Linked DNA regions of Homo sapiens: all the other regions are linked to region 1. The links are contacts of gene promoters, found by promoter capture Hi-C in blood cells and fetal thymus (Javierre and others, 2016). All regions are on one chromosome and are shown on one strand. The core of a region is centred on a gene start or on the middle of the fragment in contact, and the rest is flanking DNA. Distances in the headings are between cores, read along the strand shown.

What was found. The method cuts DNA at HindIII sites, captures the fragments that hold promoters and counts their contacts. A CHiCAGO score of 5 or more calls a contact.
Region 2: a contact is called between a fragment that was not itself captured here and the fragment with the promoter of HMGCS1 in region 1, in 4 of 17 cell types (total CD4 T cells, fetal thymus, monocytes and 1 more). The highest score is 8.7, in total CD4 T cells.
Region 3: a contact is called between a fragment that was not itself captured here and the fragment with the promoter of HMGCS1 in region 1, in 5 of 17 cell types (naive CD8 T cells, activated CD4 T cells, non-activated CD4 T cells and 2 more). The highest score is 7.8, in naive CD8 T cells.

Annotation. Positions count from the first base shown.
Region 1 is chr5:43,311,804-43,315,083 of GRCh38, reverse strand. HMGCS1 (3-hydroxy-3-methylglutaryl-CoA synthase 1) reads left to right here and starts at 1,672. Exons shown (of 11, transcript NM_001098272.3): 1 at 1,672-1,728. RefSeq lists enhancers at 1-150, 245-759, 760-1,276, 1,283-1,512, 1,763-1,902. The HindIII fragment of the contact is 3,835 bases long and covers 956-3,280 here.
Region 2 is chr5:41,840,842-41,844,121 of GRCh38, reverse strand. It overlaps OXCT1 (3-oxoacid CoA-transferase 1), which reads left to right. Exons shown (of 17, transcript NM_000436.4): 6 at 1,341-1,447. Among named protein-coding and RNA genes, the nearest start is that of OXCT1-AS1, 28 kb to the left of the region's middle. The HindIII fragment of the contact is 1,846 bases long and covers 742-2,587 here.
Region 3 is chr5:41,858,163-41,861,442 of GRCh38, reverse strand. OXCT1 (3-oxoacid CoA-transferase 1) reads left to right here. Exons shown (of 17, transcript NM_000436.4): 3 at 39-129. Among named protein-coding and RNA genes, the nearest start is that of OXCT1-AS1, 10 kb to the left of the region's middle. The HindIII fragment of the contact is 4,650 bases long and covers 1-3,280 here.

The DNA of each region.
Region 1 (3,280 bases), core at 423-2,922:
AAATTTCCGGTTGTGTAAGATGGTCATTCTCATGACCGTCTGGCTAATCATTTCCCATTATGTACTCCTGGAGTTGGAATTATTTGCGATTCCTAACGACAAAACTGTATCTTCTTTCTTGTGTTTGTCCTTACTGCCTTTCAGCATATTCCAATATGCCAAGAATTTTAATCTCCTACCCCACCCCAAATTGCTGTTGATCATAATCAGGCAATGTCTCTCTCTCTGTTTACTATCTAGTTACTTTACATACATATGAAGTGAGTCATGGGCAATACTGTGGAATGGAAATCATTACTGAGTGGTCCTCTTCCCCCAAGTCATTTATGCCACCACTTCACAGTGGTTCCATTTCCAATATATTTTGCCACTTTGCTGCTGAGAATGTGTCTTACTAGGTTAGCATCTATAGTGGTTAAAAGAATCTCCCATAACAATAATTGTGTGAATCACAGAATTACCAATGACCCCTTATCAATAGCATTCCTGTTAATTAAATTGAGATGGGGAGAGATACAAACAACTCCGAACCTCACTCATGGTCCCCCACCAAAGCTAAGTATTATGGCTTCTCTCTCTGACCAGATAGAGGCAGAGTTTATTGCAAAGCCACAAGTGTCCTCCTTTGGATTCCCCCAAATAGTGTTTCAGTGAATTCCTCTAGCTTGAATTGCTCCTCTCTATTTGCTGGGGGAGTTAGGCAGTCCGTATCCGATGGATTTACTATGCCGACAATTACGTGGCCTTTCCACAGCCTTTTACTTGGCAGGTACCACATATGAAGCTTAGAAGATACAGTGGGCAACAGGCCAAATGGAGTCCCTTTCCTCAGAGTGCATGGCCTGGCAAAAATCCTTGAATTCAGTATCAACTTCCCTTCACAGGCAAGGCTCTGCACCCTCCCCACGGATGCCTAATCCTGAAACCATTTTGTTTTAGGTTTAGTTAGAAAGCTTTGTCTCAAGAGCACTTTTGTTTGTTCTGTTTTCTTTAAGTCAAGGTAGTTTTGAATAAAGGAGACAATATTTGAGTATTTACAAATCGGGTATTTAGACTATTTACACATATACAAGTTCTGGGTGAAGTATTCTGCTCCAATTTGCAATCTACGCACACTTTGCTAGAAAACGTTAAGACTGAATTCAAATCAAGTACAGTATTTCAGAAATCTTTCAGGTGAAGCCTAGTTCTGGTTGCTAGGCAACCTGACAGACTCCCAAGCTGGGACCACCTCGCCTCCCACATTTGACCATCTCTCCAGCGGTGGGACGCGGAGTACCCATTGGCCCGCATCTCCTCTCACTTAGTCCCAATTGGTCGGAGAACCTCTCACTCCGCTCCCGTTGGCTCTCGCCGTATCTCGCAGCTCCGTCATTGGCAACTGGGCTCTCGTGCCACCTCACGTCAGTCTCTCACACCACTTCCTCGGCCCTGAGACTTTGTCCCCGCCTCTTCTCCCCGCCCTTCCAGCCACGAGGGAAAATCCTAGCGAGTCATCGCCTCTAGTTTCCTTTTGATTGGTAGAAGCCGGACTGGGGGGCGGGCGCTGCCGGGCAACTCTACCGGCCGCGATTGGCTGTGGGAGCCACCGTCCCGCCTCCCAGCGACTCTCGGCGGTGCCGGAGTCGGGTGGGTTGGCGGCTATAAAGCTGGTGGCGAAGGGGAGGCGCCGCGGACTGTCCTTTCGTGGCTCACTCCCTTTCCTCTGCTGCCGCTCGGTCACGCTTGGTGAGTGTCCCGCGCTGGGGAGTAGAACTGGGCTGCGGAGGTGCCGCGGGCGGGGTGTGGGCCAGACAGAGGCGGTGTCCTTGACTAGGCCCGAAGGAGCTGGGGCTCTGGGTCAGGACGTAGGCGTGGACTTTGCCCGGGAGGATGGGGCACCGTGAGCGGGGCCGGGCGGGGGTTCCCTCGTGAGGGACCTGAGGCCGACCGTAGCGGATCTGAGAAGATCCGAGAACACAGGCGAGTCGCGGAGGGGAGAACGCGAGAGGGCGTTGAGGTCTAGGTATTCTAACGACAGAGGAGTTGGAGGTGCCAGAGAGGCAGCTGTGACCGCCTAGAGGTGAGTGGGGGGTGTCAGGAGGGGGAGAGAAGACAGTTGGGCTACCAAGGCGTTTCCAGAGCGTTGGTTAAGGGTGGACGCCAAAGGATGGGCAAGATCCTCTTTAGACGGAGGCTGGTAGGTTCGCAGGGGGTGTGTCCTGCTGCCACATATAGAGTTGATGGAAAGAAGGGAAGTGGGTAGCATTACTTTTCTTCCTCAGCTCAGGTGCAAGAAAGCGTTCACAACCGTGATTTAGACCTGGCTAAGTACTGGGGCTCAGTCTGTACTTGCTTCAAATCTCATAGATCACTGCCTCCCGCCTTCCTGCCTCCATATTTTTTTTTGTCTACGTTTTAAAAAATAGGCTTCCTTGGTGTTCTGAAATCCCACATCTCTCTCCTACTAATACCTTCGGGACCAGCTTTAGGTGATACAGTGTAATGGGCAGGCACTCACAGAGTCCTCCCACAAATAGGTTTTGGATTAAGCTAAGGATATTTCAAAGCAAGTATATGGAGTCTTTGAAAACCCACGTCTGGCCTTGACCAGTGGTAGAGAAACGATTATTCTGATCCACTCTGGAGGAGGGATTTGGGGAACAAATAATGTGAGGTTGTGCCTGTTTGTCATGCTTGTCCCTATGGCCTTAGCCTTAAGGCATCAGTAGCTGCTTTCACTGCTCACCTCTGCTGCAGCTCCCCACCTTCCCGAGGATGCTCTTGCCACCTGCTGCAGTAGGATGATGTGTTCTGGTTGCTGCTAACTAACATTTGCTCTGTTTTAGGCATGAATATGAAAAACAATGACAAGATAAACAACAAAATTAAGACAAATGGAAGTGCTCCTAGAGTTAACAGATTTTTCCTTCTGAGATGTGTTTTGGACTTTATTGCACAGATACTATTAGATGAGAGGCAGTTGAAAGTCGTTAACATTATCCGTGTCAGTAGTTCTTTGCACTTGAGACACCTAAGCAGCTTGTGTTCTTTAAACTTTATTTTAAAATTGCAGTTATTTTTGTGTGAAGAAGGGGGCAGGGATAGCATACCTTATGGGAAGAGAGAAAGGCTTTCTTTGTGTCTACCTTTGTAGATATTTCTCACCTAAGTTTGTAAGTTTGCCCTTTATTCGGTTCTACTTTAGTTCAGCTCAATTCTAGTATAATCATCAGTAACCCCAGCACTCAGAAGGTCTGACTTACGCTGTGGGGAGGGAGTGTAAAAGGATATTTTATGT
Region 2 (3,280 bases), core at 415-2,914, 1.5 Mb after region 1:
ACATCAGAAAATTATGTAACTAGAATATAAAAGAAGCCTATTTATTGACTTTGCCTTGCATTTGCATATATTTACCCCAGTTTTCTAGATCTGTATGTAAAACACTCAACTATCATTGTTGGTATTTACAGTGATTTTTGAAATACATAAGCCGTTCCAAAATAACTTTGTATATTGATATGTGGCTCAGAAATATCTTTCATATAATTTATCTTAGTTCCTATAGTAAGATCCTCATTCATCAGTTATTCCCTAAGTGCATTAATCTTTTTTCTAGCAGGCAACTTGGTTAATGTCTTTAAAGTAGCCTTTATTTAAGAAAGGTTTTGTTTCAAACCATAGTTGAAATAAATGTACCAAAATTTTCTATTTTCTATAGCAGCTTTTTGTAAAACGCACTTAGTCTGTTTTTCCACTAGGGGGTGCGGTAGGGATGAGAATGGAGTTCTACATTCACATGGCTCCATTTTGTGCAGTGATGGAGTGTGGCAATGGATGCTTGTTTTAATTCCCGGAAATAAACCGTCAAGAATAAAAGAACATGATGGCAAGACAGTTTTGCTTTATGTTCTTCCCTCCAAAATTGGTAGTATAATTAAAAGGCAATAAACATAAATAAAAATCAATAGCATTCCCTAGATCAGTAATGTCAGAAGAGTAGATAGGAGCAAATGTAACATTCACAGTAGCAAGAGAAACCACTAAGTACCTATAAATAAACCTAAGAAAAAAAATAAAGCTTTTATGGAGAAAATAATAAAACTATTGAAGGAGGTCGAAGAAAACCTCAGTAAATGGAGACATATACTATGCTCATGGGTGGGAAGATAGGGCTTGTTGGTTTTCTCCAAATTTACTGATTCTGTGAATCCCATTTAAAATCTCAACAGGTGATATAGGTTATTGAGGATAGCTGAATGATAGATTTTTGTAACTATTTTATGTAGGAAAACAATACATAGACCATTTTATGCAAACTGTTTTTTCAGGGGAGAGGGAAAGAAGGACTATTTTTCACATTCAATATACAACCTGTACATACAAATAGTAAAATGAAAATAGTCTATCCCTCAGGCCATAGAACTTTCAGTTCCTCAAATGCACAAATTTTCTTTTGTCACTGGACCTTTGCTTGTCTGTTTCCTTAGCTCCCCTTAGACCACTTTGACTAAGTCCTGCTTGCCTAACACTGCTTATCTTTGAAGTCTCTGGGATGCTTTTCCCTCTGAGAAATTTTCCCTCAGTAGGCTTGTATCCTTATTATCTACCTCTATCAGAGTGCCTCTATCACAATCAAGACCTATGCAAATACCTGATGATGCCTTCTCCCTCTTCTGCAGGTGAGGGAGTTCAATGGTCAGCACTTTATTTTGGAGGAAGCAATTACAGGGGATTTTGCTTTGGTGAAAGCCTGGAAGGCGGACCGAGCAGGAAACGTGATTTTCAGGTATTGTGATAGTTTTAAAAACACTCGTGCATATCAGCAACTCTAAAAATGGACATCAGAGTGAATTTGGAATTTAAAAATGTATTTTCGTAATGGCCCAAAATCATACATGCCCATGTGTATTGCACATATATAGGTGTGTGCAGGGCTGCTGGTATGTCCACTTGTGGGAGTCTGTTTAGACTGGTCGATATCTATGTTGCACTGCTTGTTAAATATTTGGATCTATATGCCCTTTTATATAGGCACATGCAGTTGTTTTTCTCCTTGTGTATTTTAGTTGCCAAGACCAGTTACATGCTTAGAAAATGTGACATCATACAATTTTATTTAATTGATATTGTAATTTACATGTATTGTCTTAAAATGTCAAAGCTAATTTGATACTCTGGAAAGATACTGCTAATAATCATTGGGGTCAGTCCTTCAGTCCTTTTGGTGTCTTCTAGGAAATGCTTACAAAGGTTCTATCTGAAAAATTGATTAACCTTTATAATACTGAATTTTCAATCCTCTCAGCCACAGACTTTATAGATTTTAAAATCTTTTGGTTATTCTAAGCATACTAAGTATTTATATCTTGGATTTATAGATTTATATAGTTGTTTTTTGAGGAATATGAAACCTTTGAGTGTACACTTAAGAGTTTTCCAAACTGATCTTGAAGACTTTACCTATCAGATTACAGAAATCATTGTTTTTGCTTATTTATCATTTGCTGCTTTCGATTAACAATTTTTAAATCTTTAGCAAATGCAGCTTTGGTGCAATTACAGTTAAGTTCTCAGTGATACTCTCATATCACTTTTTATTTCTGAAGGACTTATGTGATATTAATGCTCTTTGATTTCTTTAATTTAGCCAGTTTTTTAAAGTACAACTAATTTTGGCAATAACAGGAGTAATTTTACATCATCTTTACCTTATTTGACACGTTTGTGTAATATTTACACGTTTAGTTGCTTTTTAAAAAAGATTAACAAAATTGTATACTACCAAACAGAAAGGAATTATTGAAAATATTCCCATGTTTATTCTGCGCTGCAGTGCCTGGCTCTGGTATTTGAAGGCTGCACAAGGGCTATTCTGGGCACTGACTTTATGCTGGTGGTTAATGAGTTCGGGTGTGAAATGAAAGCTTGCATCACCAATGGTCAAGTGACCTTAGGATTAACTTCATATTTAGTGGGACAGCTGGAACAGAAGTCTGTCTAGGTTATTCAAGTGGGGGACTTGGGACTCCTTTGCCTCTGACCATTCTGCCCTTGGAGCTTTTGATGCCTGGATGTCTGGTGGGATCTAACCCAGCAACTTGTGAAAGTTCACGAGGGCTCCTTTCTCAAGGATGCTCCTATTCCTGTACTCATTCTTCAATCTGAGCAAAAGAAATATTGGTGGCTCAAAAGAGCTAGTAAAACATAGCTGTGACTTACTTCCTTTTACCAAAGAAATTCTGCCATCAACGTATATTCCCAGAGACAAAAAATATGTTTTAATTTTTACCATTAGGGGAACTGTATTGAGGAACATCAGAGTGCAAAACCATCGGCAAAATTGGCACCTGCTAGAAATTTTTACACCTCGGGGTCTGATGTGGGTGTTATACTTCCAAAAACTTCATCAGAAAATGATTCTCCAGAATGATCTTTATAGTTGACTCACAAATTATCAATGAATGTTTCATTTAGTTTCAGCAATAGGCTTCTCTTCAATAGAGAATGTAATTACTGTACCTTCTCATGTGAAGCATTTGCTACTTTTCCTTTCTTAATATTTTAATGAAAGCAAGTGGTTGAATGAAATATTTAACTAATAGGGACAAAGCATACTTGT
Region 3 (3,280 bases), core at 232-2,731, 1.5 Mb after region 1:
CCCCTTTACAAATTGTTTATTTTTTGGGCTTAATATAGGTTTTGGGCTATGTGGAATTCCAGAGAATCTTATAGATGCTTTACTGAAAACTGGAGTAAAAGGACTAACTGCAGTCAGCAACAATGCAGGGTAAGTGTGCATTTTAAAAACAATTGGCTGGAGAGAAATGCCAATTCTTAATATTTAAACAGAGTTTATCAATGAAATGAAGTTTTCTCCTATTCACATGAGCAATATGTCCAAGCATCAAAATCTAGTGTTTAACAAGGTCAAGAGGGGTGGTTACATTTATCCAAATGTTTTTGGTACCATCCTTCATAAGTAAAGCAGACTTGCTTCATCTAGTATAAAGATATAAATTAAGACTTTATATCTTAATGTGATGTGCTTTTATTTTTCTAAACTTAAAATGTATTGAAGTTAGAATATATATCTTCAAATTAAGTCTTGCATTTTAAAATTTAAATGTATTGTTTTATGTTATTTATTAGATCATTTATAAAGCAAGGTGGGCATCAATTTGAAATCTGTTTAAAGCCCTTTCTTTTAGCAATGCCATCATTCTAGATCATAAATAAAGGGATACCATTAATCACAAAAACATGGCTGGTCTTGGAAGGTGGATATGCAGCCAGCACTTAAGATAATAGGATTGCATATTATAGTGGTCAGAAATAAGCCATCATTTTAATAATAGCATGCACATTAAGGTACATTTAGCTATGTTAGGAAAAGCCATATTTTTATTTTTACAAAATGGTAAGTCATCAGCTCTCAACAATTAAAGACTTTAAGGATTTTACATTTTTAATCACCCAATTGGCATTTTAGCCAATTATAAAAGCAGTTTAGAATAAATAGTGTAGGTTATTTGGGAAGTAAAACTGATGCTACTTTTTTGTGCCCATTTTTCCTTTTCTGAGTCTGTTTCCTTCTGGGAGACTGTCCCTCCTCTTTCCTGTCTATCCACATCTCTCAGGATTAGACTTAAGTTGTATATCCTCAAAGTATCCTTATCCAATTATAGAAACTTTTCTAGTCTTTATTGATCTTGCCCCTTTTTGAGTTCCTTTAGAGACTTTTAGCCTTTCTTTGTGTGCTGAATTTTACTTATCTTTGATATATATGTATATTACATTACCAATCTCCTTTATTTACAGTAGTTATGTATTCCCTACTGTCCTGAGCCTGTAAGTCTGAGTCTCAGAGTTACTGTGTGTTGGAGGGGAATGGGATTGTAGAAATCATCTGTCCCTTGTTTAACTGACTTTTCAGATCGTCTGAAAATAGAGAAGTAACTTGTTTAAGACAACTCGATAACTCTTAAACATATCTTATGCCCTTTAATTTGACTTGATTATACATACTTTTGATTATCAGCACTTTCAGTTTTCCAGATAGCTTTATGCTTATAAGGGATACTACAGATCAATATAAAATTCTTGATGCAGAATAGATGCTGTTATGACAAAGGCTGAGAAATCTGATTATACATATGTACCTACACCTATAATTACTTGTGTGTGTGTGTGTGTATATATATATATATATATTACATATATATATATATATATATATTACTATACTAGTCAGGTATAATAGTTTTTTGAGAGCCCAATGGTCAGTCTATCACTCTAAAATGTCTGGTTGTGTACCAATGACTTTGAACCTCAAGATAAAGGCAGTGACCCCTCTGCTGTGCCCTTGTTCTTTGTTGAGGAAGCTGCAGCTCTGAAGGAGTTAATAATCAGATGTAGGCCATGAGCTGATTATGGACATTCCCTAGGATTTAGTTATTTTGTCTGGGAAGGGCTAACCAATTCCTGGGATGTATACTTGAACTTCTGTGCTCAGCTCATGAAAGATTTCATTTGTCTCATGTAACTACAGAAGTCCTCCCTTATTCGAGGGGCCTGTGTTCTGAAATCATGGCTAATACTCAACCCAATTGCTGTCAATGGGAATGTATTTCTGTTTGTCTTCCACCCACAAATTTAATGTCTTTTCCATCTTAACTAAGCTCTTATTATGCTCTGTGGCTATAACTTTTGCAGTTTGAGATATGACAGCAAAACTAGCAGATATTTTTCTCTTTCTTTGAAATTTAATGGATAAAAGATTCATTCTTACTTAGATCTTTCACTTAAAGGAAGCACTTTATGACCTCTTTCTGGCATATCCAAGTTGCCTGCACCACTACTCTTGTGTTTTGGGGCCATTATTAAGTAAGATAAGGACTACTTGAACACAAGCACAGCAAAGACTGCAGCAATCTATCTGATCACCATCATGGCTACTAAGTGAAGAACAGGAGAGTAGTATATACAGTGTAGATGTGCTGGACAAAGGGAGGATTCACACCCCGGGCAGGATGGAGTAGGATGATGATAGCTCATCTCGTTACTCAGAATGGTGCAAAACTTAAAACTTATGAATTTTATATGTCTGGAATTTTCCATTTAATATTTGTGGACTGCAGTTGACTGGGTAATTGAAACCACATAGAAAATGAAACTGCAGATTGGGTGGGGGATGGGGAAATTACTGTATGTCATAAATTAGCCTTATATTTAAATGAAGCATTTTGTTTTTGGTACTCTTGATATATTAAATATAATTATCTAATCCAGATTTAAGTATGTCTAAAATGAAAAGTAAACAAAAGAAATACAACTTGGTAAGTGATCCCAACTTTATTTTTGTTTATCTTATTTTGACAAGAATTGCCAATTAATGAGATTTCAGAAAATCAGCAAATTAAATTTCAGATTCAGAGCATGGAAATATTTCCAGAACATTGTCTCTGATGCGGTATCTTTTTGCTTTATAATAATGTGTCTCATTAATGAATTCTTGGCCTTAGACTTTTTCTAGTCACCAAAATGTTTGAAACCCAGGTTTGTTATGATGCAGGAAAAAGATCACATCTCTCTTTAGTATGCTAAAAAATGTTGGCTACTAAAGGAAAGCACCCATCTTTTTGAAGGTCTTATCAGCATTGTCTTTAGTATTAAAGAGCTATAAGATGGTTTAATATACATGTCTCTATTAGAAATGATATGTTCCCCATTTGCAAAAGATCACATCTATTTTTCTTTATCTTGTAAGCCTTTATAGGTAAGGGACTTGTCTTACTAATTTTTTATCATCAATGTCTGATAATAGGTAAGATATACACTTGCCAAATTTGGGTTGTAAAGTATGTGGCAAGAAACACTCTCATTGTAAGCTGACAGCATTTTCAAGACCTGAAGAACTGGTCAGGTAGTGCACCTGGGGC